Linked DNA regions of Homo sapiens: regions 2, 3 and 4 are each linked to region 1. Evidence: promoter capture Hi-C in human tissues and cell types (Jung and others, 2019). All regions are on one chromosome and are shown on one strand. The core of a region is centred on a gene start or on the middle of the fragment in contact, and the rest is flanking DNA. Distances in the headings are between cores, read along the strand shown. Region 1 holds the start of ZNF814 (zinc finger protein 814). Region 2 holds the start of ZNF773 (zinc finger protein 773). Region 3 holds the start of ZNF530 (zinc finger protein 530). Region 4 holds the start of ZNF550 (zinc finger protein 550).

Region 1 (2,959 bases), core at 161-2,660:
GCGGAGGTTGCAGTGAGCTGAGATCGTGACATTGCACTTCAGCCTGGGCAACAGGAGCAAAATTCTGTCTCAGAAAACAAACAAACAAATAAACAACAACAACAACAAAAAACCCCAGTCTCGCAATTTTCAGGGAGACTGATTTGAGTAATACTAGTAAGACTCCAGTATGCTGTTCATCCAACTCTGTGTGAATAAAACTCTTTTTCTTTTGCAATTTCCCTGTCCTGATAAATTGGCTTTATCTGGGCAGTAGGAAAAATGAACCCTCTGGGTGTTTACACGTTCATTTTAACAATACAATAATGGTTATTAATCTTTGCATTAATCTTTGCTTCCAGTGGAAGAATTTTGCATCTGAAGGACCATCTGAAATGATAGGTGAATTTGGATCTGTAGCCTTTGGGAACATCTACACTAACTCTGAAATAATATTTTTCCATACACTAGGGTAATCAGTTACAGCCAATAACCCCAAGAAATCTCAATGTGAGTTCTAAGGAGAGGCAGGATGATCCTCTGCCTAGGAGAAAGATCTGCAATCTTTTATTTATTTTTTTATTTTTATTTTTATTTTTTTTTCCAACATGGAGTCTTGCTGTGTCACCCAGGCTGGAGTGCAGTGGCAGGATCTCACTCACCGCAACCTCTGACTCCCATGTACAAGAGATTCTCCTGCCTCGGCCTCCCCAGTAGCTGGGATTACAGGCGCATGTCACCATGTGGGTTAATTTTTGTATTTTTAGTAGAGGCGGGGTTTCACCATGTTGGCCAGGCCAGTCTTGAACTCCTGACCTCAGGTGTTCCACCTGCCTCGGCCTCCCAAAGTGCTGGGATTACGGGCGTGAGCCGCCCGCACCTGGCCCTTATTTTTATTTTTTAGATAAGAGGTCTCGTTCTGTTGCCCAGGCTGGAATGCAGTGGTACGATCTCGGCTTACAGCAGCTTCGAACTCCTGAGCTCAAGCGATTCTCCCTCCTCAGGCTCCCTAACCCTAACCCCAACCTTAGGGCAGCTGGGACCACAGGCCCGCCCGACCACACTCCGCTAATATTTTTTATTTTTTGTAGAGACAGGATTTTGCTTTGTTGCTCAGGCTAATTTCTAACTCCTGACCTCAAATGATCCTTGTGACTTGGCCTCCCAAACTGGTGGAATTACAGGCGGGAGCCACCATACCAGTCAGGACGCACATCTTAAGGATACTCCCGAGGTGAAGCTGGGCTTTTCCTGCAGAAGCGCCTCTGGGAATTGCGCCCTTTACCCTCCTTGTTGCCTAGGGAACTACATTACCCAGAAAACTCAGCCTCGAATGATAGCGTAGAAGACCTCTGAGGGCTCAGAATAAAGGCGTTTCCTGTGTGCACGTGACAATGGGTCCGGACTTCCGGCGCCCTCTGGTGGCGGCCATTTTGATTGGTGTTGGATTTATTTGTAGGAGAGGCTCCTGAGCGCTAGGTCCGCACTGTGGTGACTGAACCCAGAAGTCGGGGAGCAGTTGTCCTCCGCTGCACAGAGGCTACTCTGGAGCTCTGTGACGGCGCCCAGCGTGACCCACTCCTGGGCCAGGATACGGACCGTCGTGCCCATATCTCCTGGCTGGTCGCCCTATCCTCCCGACTCTGCTTAAAACCACGTGGTTCGATGGCTGCCGCGGCTACGCTGAGGCTCTCCGCTCAGGTAATTGTGGGGCCTTCTGTGTCCTCAGGTCACCTCATCGTCACCCAAAAGCAGCGAGGTAGCAGCGCCTGTTCACGGCTCTGCAGCCCGGACGCCGGCGTTGGGACACTGAGGCGCTTGCGGGAGGGGCCCCATTTCTGACACCCGTGGGATGCGGTGGGGAGACCGGCAGGTACAGGGACTGGCGCGGGCAAAGGCCTGGAAGTGAACTGAGCCAGAAGGATGGAATCTGGGGTCCACAGGTGCCTGTTGGGAGCAAATTATGAGGCGGAGCTCCTCCTGGAAGAGCAAGCAGGCTGGGGGCTATGAACTCACGTGAGGACCCTAGAAGGCATGGAGATTTTCGAAGAAAGGAGGGATGTCATGAGCATTGTAAGGGTAGAGATAATCAGGTCCATGCATGTTTGTGTCTTTGCACAGTGTCAGGTGATATTTGAGTCAACAAAAGCCATGAGCTAAATGGAGTTCGAAGGAGGCAATTCTCTTGTGATTCCAGTTCACTTGGTAGTTGGCCATGGGCACAGAGGCTGAAGACACTCCCCAAGTCAGTCAATATAGCAAACAATACACAATAGTATACTTAACATGTAAATGTTAAAGGTTAAACATAACACTGTTGTACCCGGGCGAGTTAGAAAAACGCCACACTTTGAGACGAATTAAGAGTCCTTTATTCAGCTGGCGGCCAAAGAGACGGCTAACGCTCAAAATTCTCTCGGCCCCGAGGAAGGGGCTTGATTAACTTTTATACTTTGGTTTAGGAAGGGGAGGGGAGCTTAAATGCAACAACTCTTCAGAAGTAAAAACATGCAAAAAATTAAAAGGATAAATGGTTACAGAGAAACAAACAATTTAAAAGACAAATGGTTACAAAAAGGCAAGGTACCAGGTGTGGCGCTCTAAATCCTTCATAAGAGTTAGATATGGGCACTACGCCAGACACAAACTCAAGGCTTTATGGTGTTATCTTTTGAGCAAAATCCTGGGAACTTCATACATGGTTTGTTCCCAGTCCCTTATCAGTTAATTGGACTCCTTTGATATGTTGAGAATCTGCTTACACAAGTTAACTCCTTGAGGAAAGGGGGGTGGGTAAGGAGTCCTTAATGTCTTGTAAATCAAGGGGGCCAGGTGGAGCTCGTCTGGCTTTCTCAGCTAAGCGAGAGTCTATTCATGTGGAAACGAGGCTAGGTGATTAAGAGAGCAAAAGGGAGAGTCTAAAAACAGGATTAGTGAAAACAAGGTTGGGCATTACAACACAAGGAACAAAATAATGCTT
Region 2 (3,042 bases), core at 426-2,925, 390 kb after region 1:
GATGCCTCTTACCTGTTGTGTGCCCTTGGAAAAATGCTCAACTTCCCTGTGCCTTGGTATTGCCATCTGCAACATGGCAATAATGGTATTCACTCAATAGGACTATTGTTTGTATCAAACTCATTCTTATGTGTCTAGGACTAAATATCAACTCTTACTGTACACATAATTAATGCTTCTGTCAACATTTTCAGTGCAAATAAACTGGTAGGTTTTCAAAATGTGGGTTTCTGCCTGGGTGCAGTGGCTCAAGCCTGTAATCCCAACACTTTGGGAGGCCGAGGTGGGCAGATCACAAGAGCAGAATTCTGTCTCAAAAAAAAAAAAAAAAGAAAGAAAAAGAAAGACAATGTGGGTTTCCTTTTGGCAATCTGGCTGCCTGCTATATACTCCCCTGAAGACCATCCTGCTGAGAGCCCTCCCTTCTACTGGAGCAGTTGATCATCCCACCTGTGCTGATAGCTAGGGAAACTTAGGCACCAAAGGTGCTGCTCCACCAGCCTGGCTGACCTTTCCTTTTCTCCATATGGACTGGACATGAGGAACTACTAAGCCTGGAGTGGCAAACCTATATACTACCCAACACTGCGGTCTCCATCCAGTCCTGGGTGTTCATACTCTATAACCCTCCATTCCTGCAGGCACCAGACAAAATCACTTCGGACCACGAAACTCCAGGCTGTAGAGGCTGCCCCATCCTACAGGCCCATCTCTCCCTTCCCTCACCTCAGGGACCATCTGAAAGAAAACTTTAAGATTCTCCCTCCTAAATACGAGCCCCAGGCCTTCCAGCTGCTCATGTGGACATGACACCTCCACTCTGGGACATCTCAGGATCACCATGCCCAAAACCTATTCCCTGCACAGCCTTACCCATCTCCATCCTTCCTGATATTCAGGAACAAACAAAAATACAAATAAAAATCCAGAATGGCTCTTCATTCCCTACTTTCTTTCACAGTCACATCTGATGCAACAGGAATTCCCGTCTGTTCAGTTTTTGAAATCCATCCAAGATCTGATCACTTCCCCTCCTCTGTGGCCCAGTCCCAGTAGACTCTCCACTAGTCTACTGAATTTACCTACTCACAGGTCTGTCTTCACCCGCCTCACCCCCACCCCAGTCTGTTTTGACTTGAAGGGCCTTTGGCAAACTTTGAGAAACAGATCTTGTCACTCTTCTGTCTCCAGCCCTCCGCGGCCACTGTGGCCCCCTCAGGATGAAAGCGCAGCTGCTCGGGCTGTCGCTCGACACGCGCCTCGTCCCTTCCCAAGCTGCCCACTACAGACACCAGGAGGCCTCAGGTTCGGGACTCGCTGAATGCGCCTCACATCTTTGCGAGCCGGGCCCCTTGCCCTCCATTGCCACCCCATCACACTGCGTGTCAGAAACGGGACGCCGCCCACGAACGCCCCACAGTTCTGCACCCGGGGACCTGAGCAGGCGGCCCTCACAGGGCTTTAGGATTCGGGGGAGGCCGGGAGGACGCGGCGCTCACCTGAGCGGGGTCCCTCAGCGTGGCCGCCGCCATCGGAGCCTGTGGCGGTGAGACAACGACCGAGGAAAGGGCCCGGGCCACCCTGGGCGCCGCCACCGAGCCTCAGACCCGCCTCTGAGCTGCGAGAACACAGCGCGTCCCCACCGCGCTTTCCGGAGCTGGTCGCCGCAGCGAACAACCAGCTTCCGGCAAGCTGAGTTCTCTTGAGGGCAGCGAAAGCAACCGCCGAGGGGAGACGCCGGAAGTCCCGCCCATTGCGCGTCGCACTCTCGGGTAGACCTCTTTTCATTGGCCAAGCATCGCGGCTCACGGCGCGGCGCCTTCTGGGCAGTGTAGTTCGCGTGGCTCCAAACTTCGAGGAAGTGGGCATAACTTCGGAGATGGAGATTGGAGACGGTAGATGATGGAGATGGAGATGGAGATGGAGATGATGGAGATGATGGAGATGGAGATGATGGAGATAGAGATGATGATGGAGATGGAGATGATGGAAATGGAGATGATGAAGATGGAGATGATGGAGAAGATGGAGATGATGGAGAAGATGGAGATGATGGAGAAGATGGAGATGGAGATGATGGAGTAGGAGATGGAGATGGAGATGATGGAGATGATGGAGATGGAGATGATGGAGATAGAGATGATGATGGAGATAGAGATGATGATGGAGATGGAGATGATGGAGATGGAGATGATGGAGATAGAGATGATGATGGACATGGAGATGATGGAGATGGAGATGATGATGAAGATGGAGATGATGGAGAAGATGGAGATGGAGATGATGGAGTAGGAGATGGAGGAGAAATGAGTGTCGAGAACTCTCGGACTCATCTGGAACCTGTTGTAATTGGAGATGGGCCTGGATTTCAGTTTCCTGCAGCTGATACTCCAATCTTTCCTTCTTTTGAAGGACTTGAAGAGGATCTTCAGGGCCACCATAAAGAGGTTTCACTGGGCAAAGCCACGTATACCTTCCTAAATTTCCTTTGGCAAGGGGACACCCAATATTAATGCCTGATGTATGATAATAAGAAAAGGCTCTGAATTCTGGATGTAGGTGATGAGAGAGTAGGGGAGCCCAAGGATTTACGTTCCTCTTTCACCCCATTCTCATTTGTGTTCTTTCCTTCCTCAAGGACCCAACATTGGTGTAAAGGCACAACAACAGGCAGCAAACCCATAAGCCAACTCCCCCTCAATTTCTCCCCTTCATCCATTTCTGCTCCATATTCCTGTCACAGTTACTATGGGACTGAACGAAGGGGAACGAATGCAGAAATGAAAACAAAGGCAAAATAAATCTGTTTTAAAGAAGGGGTCAGGGGGCTTCTTGCTTCTAGTGAGGAAGGGCCCTGAGCTTCCACAGACCTTCATATTTATTGGGTAGAAAGAGTAGGGAGGTGGTGGCTTACGCCTGTAATCCCAGCACTTTGGGAGGCCAAGGCGGGTGGATCACAAGGTCAGGAGATCGAGACTATCCTGGCTAACACGGTGAAACCCCGTCTGTACTAAAAAATACAAAAAATTAGCCGGGTGTGGT
Region 3 (2,962 bases), core at 311-2,810, 290 kb after region 1:
AGCTTCTATGCTTCCAGCTACTAAACTCAAAAAGCCTTGAGTCACCCCTTCTTATCTCTCAGTCCCAATACCAGAAAATCAGAGCCGACCTACAATCCAAAATTCAACCATTTCTGCCACACTGTGGCCACTACTCTGGCCCACATCATCTACACTCACCTGGACTATTGCAGTAGTCTCCTCTTTCCTCTTTGGTATTGCTACCAACTCCCTTAAACCCACAGTCTGTTGTCTGTGCTCAGCCACAGGAGCCTCATGAGGCCTGGGGAAGATCACCTCCCTCTTCTGCTCCAAATCTTCATTGCTGCCATCATCTCCAGAACAAAGACATCTGAGACAGCCATTTAGTTTCTAACTCCTGTACCTCTGCTCTCTGTTCCCATGAGAAGGAAATGAGACTTGAGGTTCTCTTAACCAGCTCAGCCTCACCTCCAAGCAGCTCCAAACACCTGTACTTATCTCTGGGACAAACTTCCACATTCATCCTATTATTTGCCAGCAACAGGCACCACCTCATATAATACTCACCCTGGACATATTTTTGTTCAGAGTCCCTAGGCTCAAGGCCTGGAAAAGCGGTAAGTAAAGAATCCCAGGTCACCACAGTCCCAATCCTAGAGATCCCATTGCTGGAATCAATGAGCTTCTGGATTTCCTCCACTTACCCTTGTAGGGTCTTCAAGTGCTTCTTACGGACCTGTAAGTACTAGTGGCAATCTGTGGGAGGAAACATGTTCTGAGAGGCAGGTGACCAAAGTGTGGCTCCATGGACTTCTGGTTCCAATGTGGAACACCAGAGCCAGGTGTCCAGGGATGACTGCTTTGTATCTGGGTGTCAGTCCTTGGTGCTGACTTTTACCAGCTTTGTGACCTCGTAAAAAGACTAGGTCCCTCCATGCCTGCTATCATCACTGCCCTTCCAGCGCGTTCCTCTGAACAGCTTTTGTGAAACTTTTAGAAGCGTGACTGGGGCCGTGCCCCTCTTCTGTCCTACGCGCTGTGGCCCTCAGTGTGCTGGTGAAACTCAGTGGGGCCAATGCAGCGCGGCGCTGCCCCACCCTCTGCTACCTGCACGCGTGAGGCCGGCCTGGGTCTCCCCAGCCTCCCGGCTCAGGCGCAGCTCCAAGCTGTTGCCCGCGCAGCCCCCTGACCGTGTCGCTCTCCCGCTCCCTGCCACACTACCAGAAACGAGATCCAGCACCAGCGCCTCACTGTGCCGGACAGTGCGGTCCGGGCTGCAGAAAACCCTTCACGCGTCCCTCAGTTTCGGGTGGGGAGGGCAGAGGAGGCCGGGAGGACGCAGCGCTCACCTGGGTCGGGGCCCTCAGTGCCGCCGCCATCGGACTCTGGGCGGAGCGGGCCGGGAGCGGTGGACGATCCGGGCGGAGACAAGAGCAAAGCTGTCACCACCGCCGGCGACCGTCAGGCCCCGGCTGTGCAGCTGAGAAAACGACTCTCCTCGCGCCTTCTCGCTGTCAGCACCTAGGTCCAGATCCGGCACCCGCGGATGGAACTGACACAAGCCAAAGTGCCCGCCACAGGGAGGACGCCGGAAGTTCCGCTCCGACAAGTTGGACAGAGCGGAAATGTCCCTCCCCTGAGCCTCATTGGCTCCACGCCAAGAACCTGGCTCACGGGCCTCTGGGTAATGTAGTTCTCACCGCTTCTTGGGCTGGCAGAGGTCGCCCTTCTCCTGGACCTCAGGGAGGAATGACCCCGTTGCTATGGAGAAAGGTGGAGGGGAAGGCTGAGAGGTGGTGTCTCCAGCCTCCTTGGACAAGGGAGGAGCTTCGCTGCTTTTTTAAGGTACCATACAGAGATTTTTGGAGGGTATTGTGTACAACTAGTCACCTAGGTAGTCAGAGTTATTCAGATACAAAATGCCTCTACCCTTGGCGAGAGCCTAGTAAACATTACCTTCTTTCTCCACACATTTATGTAAAGTAGAACGTTAGAGTCAGCTTTGTGAGTTTCATTATGCTCAGTAAGGAATAAGGGAAATAGAGTTTACATAGCGCCATGACAGGAATGATAAAACATCCGTTAGATCGCACCGAAGCTGGAGGACGAAAGAGGAATTTTGTCTCACAGAAAATGCCTCTCCTGCCTGTGTAATCGGTGAGTGTGTCTAGCCCTGTAAGGAACAGTGTTGTATTCATATAATATTTCTTCCTCCATATTCTTAGATATGCTTCTTTTAGGATTGTAGCAACTTTCTAAACAGAAGAGCCACTTAGCATATGCCATTTTAAAGTAGAACAGTGTCTGTAGTGTTCACAGTCAGAGCACTTGTGCAAAGGGGACATCAGAATACCAGAATAAAGGTTTGGGACACCTAGCTTTCATCTCTTTGATGGGAAATTTTGATCATTGATACTGTTACTGCAGGGACAGTGCTTGCATGGGGAGTTGAGATCATCTTAGAAAAACAGTTGTGAAATGAAAATTACTGAAACCTATTGTATTAGTCAGGATTCTCCAGAGAAACACAGAACCAATAGGATACATAGATGTACAAGAGGGGATTTATTATGGGACTTGGCTCATCCAGTTATGGAGGCTAAGAAGTCCCAGGATATACCTTTTGCAACCTGGTAAGACACGAAGGTGGGTGGTATCATTCAGTCTGCATCTGAAGGCCTGAAAACCAAGGGAGCCTATGGTGAAATTCCCAGTTGGAGGCTGAAGGCCTGAGAACTGGGTGAGGGTCATTCTTGTATGTTCCAGAGTCCAAAGGCCCAAGATCCAAGAACTTTAATGTTGGAAAACAGAAGGTGGATGATCCAGGGCAAGAAGAGAGTAACTTGCTCTTTCTCTGCCTTTTTGTTCTATCTTGGCTCTCAAAGCATTGGATGTTGGCCCCTAACACTGATGAGGCCAGATCTCCTTTACATTGTCTACAGACTCAACTGCTAATATCTTCCATAAACATTCTCACAGACATATCCTGTACTAAGGTTTT
Region 4 (3,385 bases), core at 197-2,696, 330 kb after region 1:
CTCTGCCTTATTGGTTCTTTAAGGACCACTGCAACATGGTCTTGGGAATTATACTTCAAGAAGCCTATAAGGTTAAAGGGTGTTTATACTCACAGTGATATAGGAATAGCACTGGGTGGTTGCAGGAGGATGGAAAAATTCGAACAACAAATAAAAACAAGAACTAGGCAAAGAAACCATAGGATAACAGAAAACCCAAAATAAGAGAAAGAATGGCCAAAATCCCAGTCAGGATGACATGTCCATGACTCTTCTGGGCAAAGCCAAATAAGAGAGAAAGGGGGCAGTAACCAGGTGGGTCCCTGAATTTCCCTCCTTTTCCAGAATACCTAATAATTATTCCACTCTCTAATTAAAGAAACACCCACAAAATAGGAATGCTGTGTGGTCACAGGAGAAGGGGGAAAACATCAAGCTGTTAAAATTAGCTACTCCAACAAGAAGACTGGGCTGATGAGACCTTAACAAACAGGATTGGGGCTAGGCTGTCCCATGACGCTAGATTTGACCCATTTCCTACCCCAGACCTAATTATACACTCATTGCCACATTAAATCACACACCCACCAGTGCCAGGCCAATCCAAGCACGCCCACATTTAGTATAAAAATGGTTGGCACCCCAATTCTAAGAAATTCCCACCTTTTCCTAGAAAAACCTCATGATTATCCCACCCCCTAATTAGAAGAGCCCATAAAATTAGAAACCCAAACTCCATTGTGCATGACCCGCTCTCCCTCGTACGTCCGCATTTCCCTCTTCTCTTGGGAAAAGTACACTCTTCTCAAAAATGTGTACTTTTTCTTCCCAATAAAAGCTTCTTGCCTTTGGCTTCATTTTGACTCATCCCTGCATTCTTTCTCACGATGGTGTCACGAAGCTGGACTCCGGAAGCGGGCGGGGACTCACGGCCCCTGGAGACCTTCCTGAGCCCTGGGCAACACCAGTCCACACAGAGGAGGCAGACGTCCCACAGACGGAACCCCACGAGCATGTCCCGGGAATGGCTCCACGCGGGAAGCGGGGGTCCAGATCCACGCCAGTCCCAGGGACAGTGCCTGGCGTCAGGGTGGAGGAGGACGCAGTAACCAGGCGTAAGATTTTACTGGTACATGGGAATGTCACTGGGTCACTCAGAGGAGGCAAGCGGGGAACCTCGTGGCAGGGCCCCCTTTATCAAACTCGTTTACCTGGGTGCCTGGGCGAGTGCTCACAGCCTGCTTGTAGGGACGTTGAGGCATCCGAATAATAGGAAGTTTTAAAAATTTACAATCCAGTGTGTACACTTGCTCCGCTAAGATCATCTGAGATATACAGAAACATGGTGTGCATAATAAAAAAGGAAAAAGAGCCAAGCCTGGCCTCTTACGGGACAAGACTACATTACCTAGAAGGCAGTGGGCCGGCGCAGGAAAAGGCGTGGCAGGCGACCGCGACACAGGGGCGGGACTTCCGGCCTCGCTGGCGTGGACGTTTGTGGTGGGGCGTGTTGGTCCGCGCTCTCAGAACTGTGCTGGGAAGGATGGTAGGGCGACTGGGGCTCACCTCCGCACCGTTGTAGGACCCGGGGTAGGGTTTTGAGCCCGTGGGAGCTGCCCCACGCGGCCTCGTCCTGCCAACGGTCGGATGGCGGAGACGAAGGACGCAGCGCAGGTGAGCAGACTGGCTCGGCTCCCCGCGGCCACCCGGCCTCAGTGTCCCGGGCCCGACGAGCGGAAGGACGGCGTTTCAGGGTCGTCCTCAGTGCAGTCCCTGCCGTTGCTTCTTAGAGGCCTAGAAGGGGGTCGCGCGGTCCCGGGTCCGGAATGCAGGCCCGCGGTGGCGTGGGGAGCGTCCCCGTTTCTGGGGTGCGCGGCGTTGTGGTATGAAATAGGGCTTTTAGGGTCCCGGAACCCCTCACAGGTGAGAGGAGCGACCGCAGTCCTCCTCGTGGCTCTTCCAACCATGTCCTTTCTCGGGCCTGCGACCTTGAACAAGTCCCGTTACTGTCCTCGTCCTTCATTTTTGCGCGCGCAAAGTAGAAATATTTACTCTTCCCCCCCCCGGGGTTGAGGAAGCTTGAACGGCTCCCTGGGTGATGTGTGTGTGTCCGTCTCAGTGCACAGCACGGTCCGGGGACGTCGCTCAGGATGTTGTTTCCGGAGCTGCTCCCTGGGCCTGTGCTAGGTTTGGAGACTCAACCCCAGCAGGAGTCTGACCCTCTGGCCTCCTTGGCCTCCTGTCTCTACAACACGAAGGGCAGCGGCTGAAAGAGGTGGGAGGAGCGTTTCTGCGGTTGCTGCTATGCCAGGGCAGAAAAGGTGGTAGGGCAGGCTGAGGAATTTGTCTTTCAGTTTAGGGCAAGGGACGCTGGGTTGCAACTAACAGTATATTTTCCTGTTTAAGACATTTAGTTACAGGTGAAAAACGAGTCCATTAAAATGTTCAGTGGCGATGGTATGCAGGATGTAGTGTCCCTTTGGAGATAACACATGAGGCCCAGGGTTACTCTCTAGCAGTCACTCTGATTACTTTCATGATAGCCCAGATTACTGTCAGCTCCTGTCGTAGTTGTTAATTTCTCATCCACCTCTCCCTCCTTTGCTTTATTTCTGACTCCCTCTGGTGTCCGCTGCTTAAAGAGGTCTCGTCTGTTGCACCGTTTAAAGCTGACCAGAGTCTCTTTGGTCTCCTTGCTCTGTTTTCTTGTCATCTGAATCTTTAAGGCCATCTGACATTGCCTTACTCATTTATTTAGTTGCCTGTTTAGGATCTTTTTCCAACCCTGGAATGTGAGTGCCTGTTGCTTCCCTCTCCCAAGACCCAGAACAGCCAGGCTTAAGTACATTTATTGTACTTAATAAATGGTTGATGATTGAATAGGCCTCTCTTATAGGGACTCTCATCACATTTCCAATAAATCCACCCCCTCCTACCAGCATGGTCTGCAAGGCTGTACTTGGTTTGCCCTTTTGACCGCATCTTCTTTCTCCTCTTCCATTGTCCCCTTTCTCACTGCATTCATCCAGGGAATCCTGAGCTTGCCAAGCTCTTTCCCATTTTCAGCCTTTGCCCTTGCACTTCCCTTTGTCTGAGACATTGTTCTCAGGTCTCTGCGGGGCTGCAGTTCCACACCCATCCTGGCAGTGCTGGCTGTAGCTAAAAGCACCCCTCACTCCCACCTGCCTGCTCTCTGGCAGCTTGGTGAGGTGTTTTAGCGGTGCTCAAATGCTGCTTTTGCTTTTTAAATGTGAGGCTGTGCCTGATTTCTAAAGCTCCCTGAGCCTTTGCTGACTGTGAAATGGAAGTGATAACGACATTTACCTCTGGGCCTGTCAGGGGATTAATAAAGTTCCCAAACACATCAGGCACTTACATGTGCTAGGCACTCCACTGATTGCCTAAG

Evidence for each region. The method cuts DNA at HindIII sites, captures the fragments that hold promoters and counts their contacts. A contact is called where the count stands out against the background at its distance.
Region 2: the fragment with the promoter of ZNF773 here is called in contact with the fragment with the promoter of ZNF814 in region 1 in 2 of the 25 tissues and cell types used here (IMR-90 fibroblasts and spleen).
Region 3: the fragment with the promoter of ZNF530 here is called in contact with the fragment with the promoter of ZNF814 in region 1 in 4 of the 25 tissues and cell types used here (heart left ventricle, small bowel, spleen and 1 more).
Region 4: the fragment with the promoter of ZNF550 here is called in contact with the fragment with the promoter of ZNF814 in region 1 in 1 of the 25 tissues and cell types used here (spleen).

Annotation. Positions count from the first base shown.
Region 1 is chr19:57,887,488-57,890,446 of GRCh38, reverse strand. It overlaps ZNF814 (zinc finger protein 814), which reads left to right and starts at 1,410. Exons shown (of 3, transcript NM_001144989.2): 1 at 1,410-1,680. The coding sequence starts at 1,645. RefSeq lists enhancers at 1,700-1,749, 1,423-1,965, 1,966-2,509, 2,534-2,959. The HindIII fragment of the contact is 24,676 bases long and covers 1-2,959 here.
Region 2 is chr19:57,498,571-57,501,612 of GRCh38, reverse strand. ZNF773 (zinc finger protein 773) reads right to left here and starts at 1,675. Exons shown (of 4, transcript NM_198542.3): 1 at 1,500-1,675. The coding sequence starts at 1,532. The HindIII fragment of the contact is 9,164 bases long and covers 1-3,042 here.
Region 3 is chr19:57,598,483-57,601,444 of GRCh38, reverse strand. It overlaps ZNF530 (zinc finger protein 530), which reads right to left and starts at 1,560. Exons shown (of 4, transcript NM_001321981.2): 1 at 1,311-1,560; 2 at 666-717. RefSeq lists enhancers at 1,093-1,212, 1,303-1,512. The HindIII fragment of the contact is 9,316 bases long and covers 1-2,962 here.
Region 4 is chr19:57,557,924-57,561,308 of GRCh38, reverse strand. ZNF550 (zinc finger protein 550) reads left to right here and starts at 1,446. Exons shown (of 4, transcript NM_001397372.1): 1 at 1,446-1,653. The coding sequence starts at 1,627. LOC124904781 (a long non-coding RNA gene) reads right to left here and starts at 1,367. Exons shown (of 2, transcript XR_007067357.1): 1 at 1,191-1,367. RefSeq lists enhancers at 1,085-1,194, 139-1,338, 1,825-1,874, 1,316-2,180, 2,325-2,404. The HindIII fragment of the contact is 8,093 bases long and covers 1-3,385 here.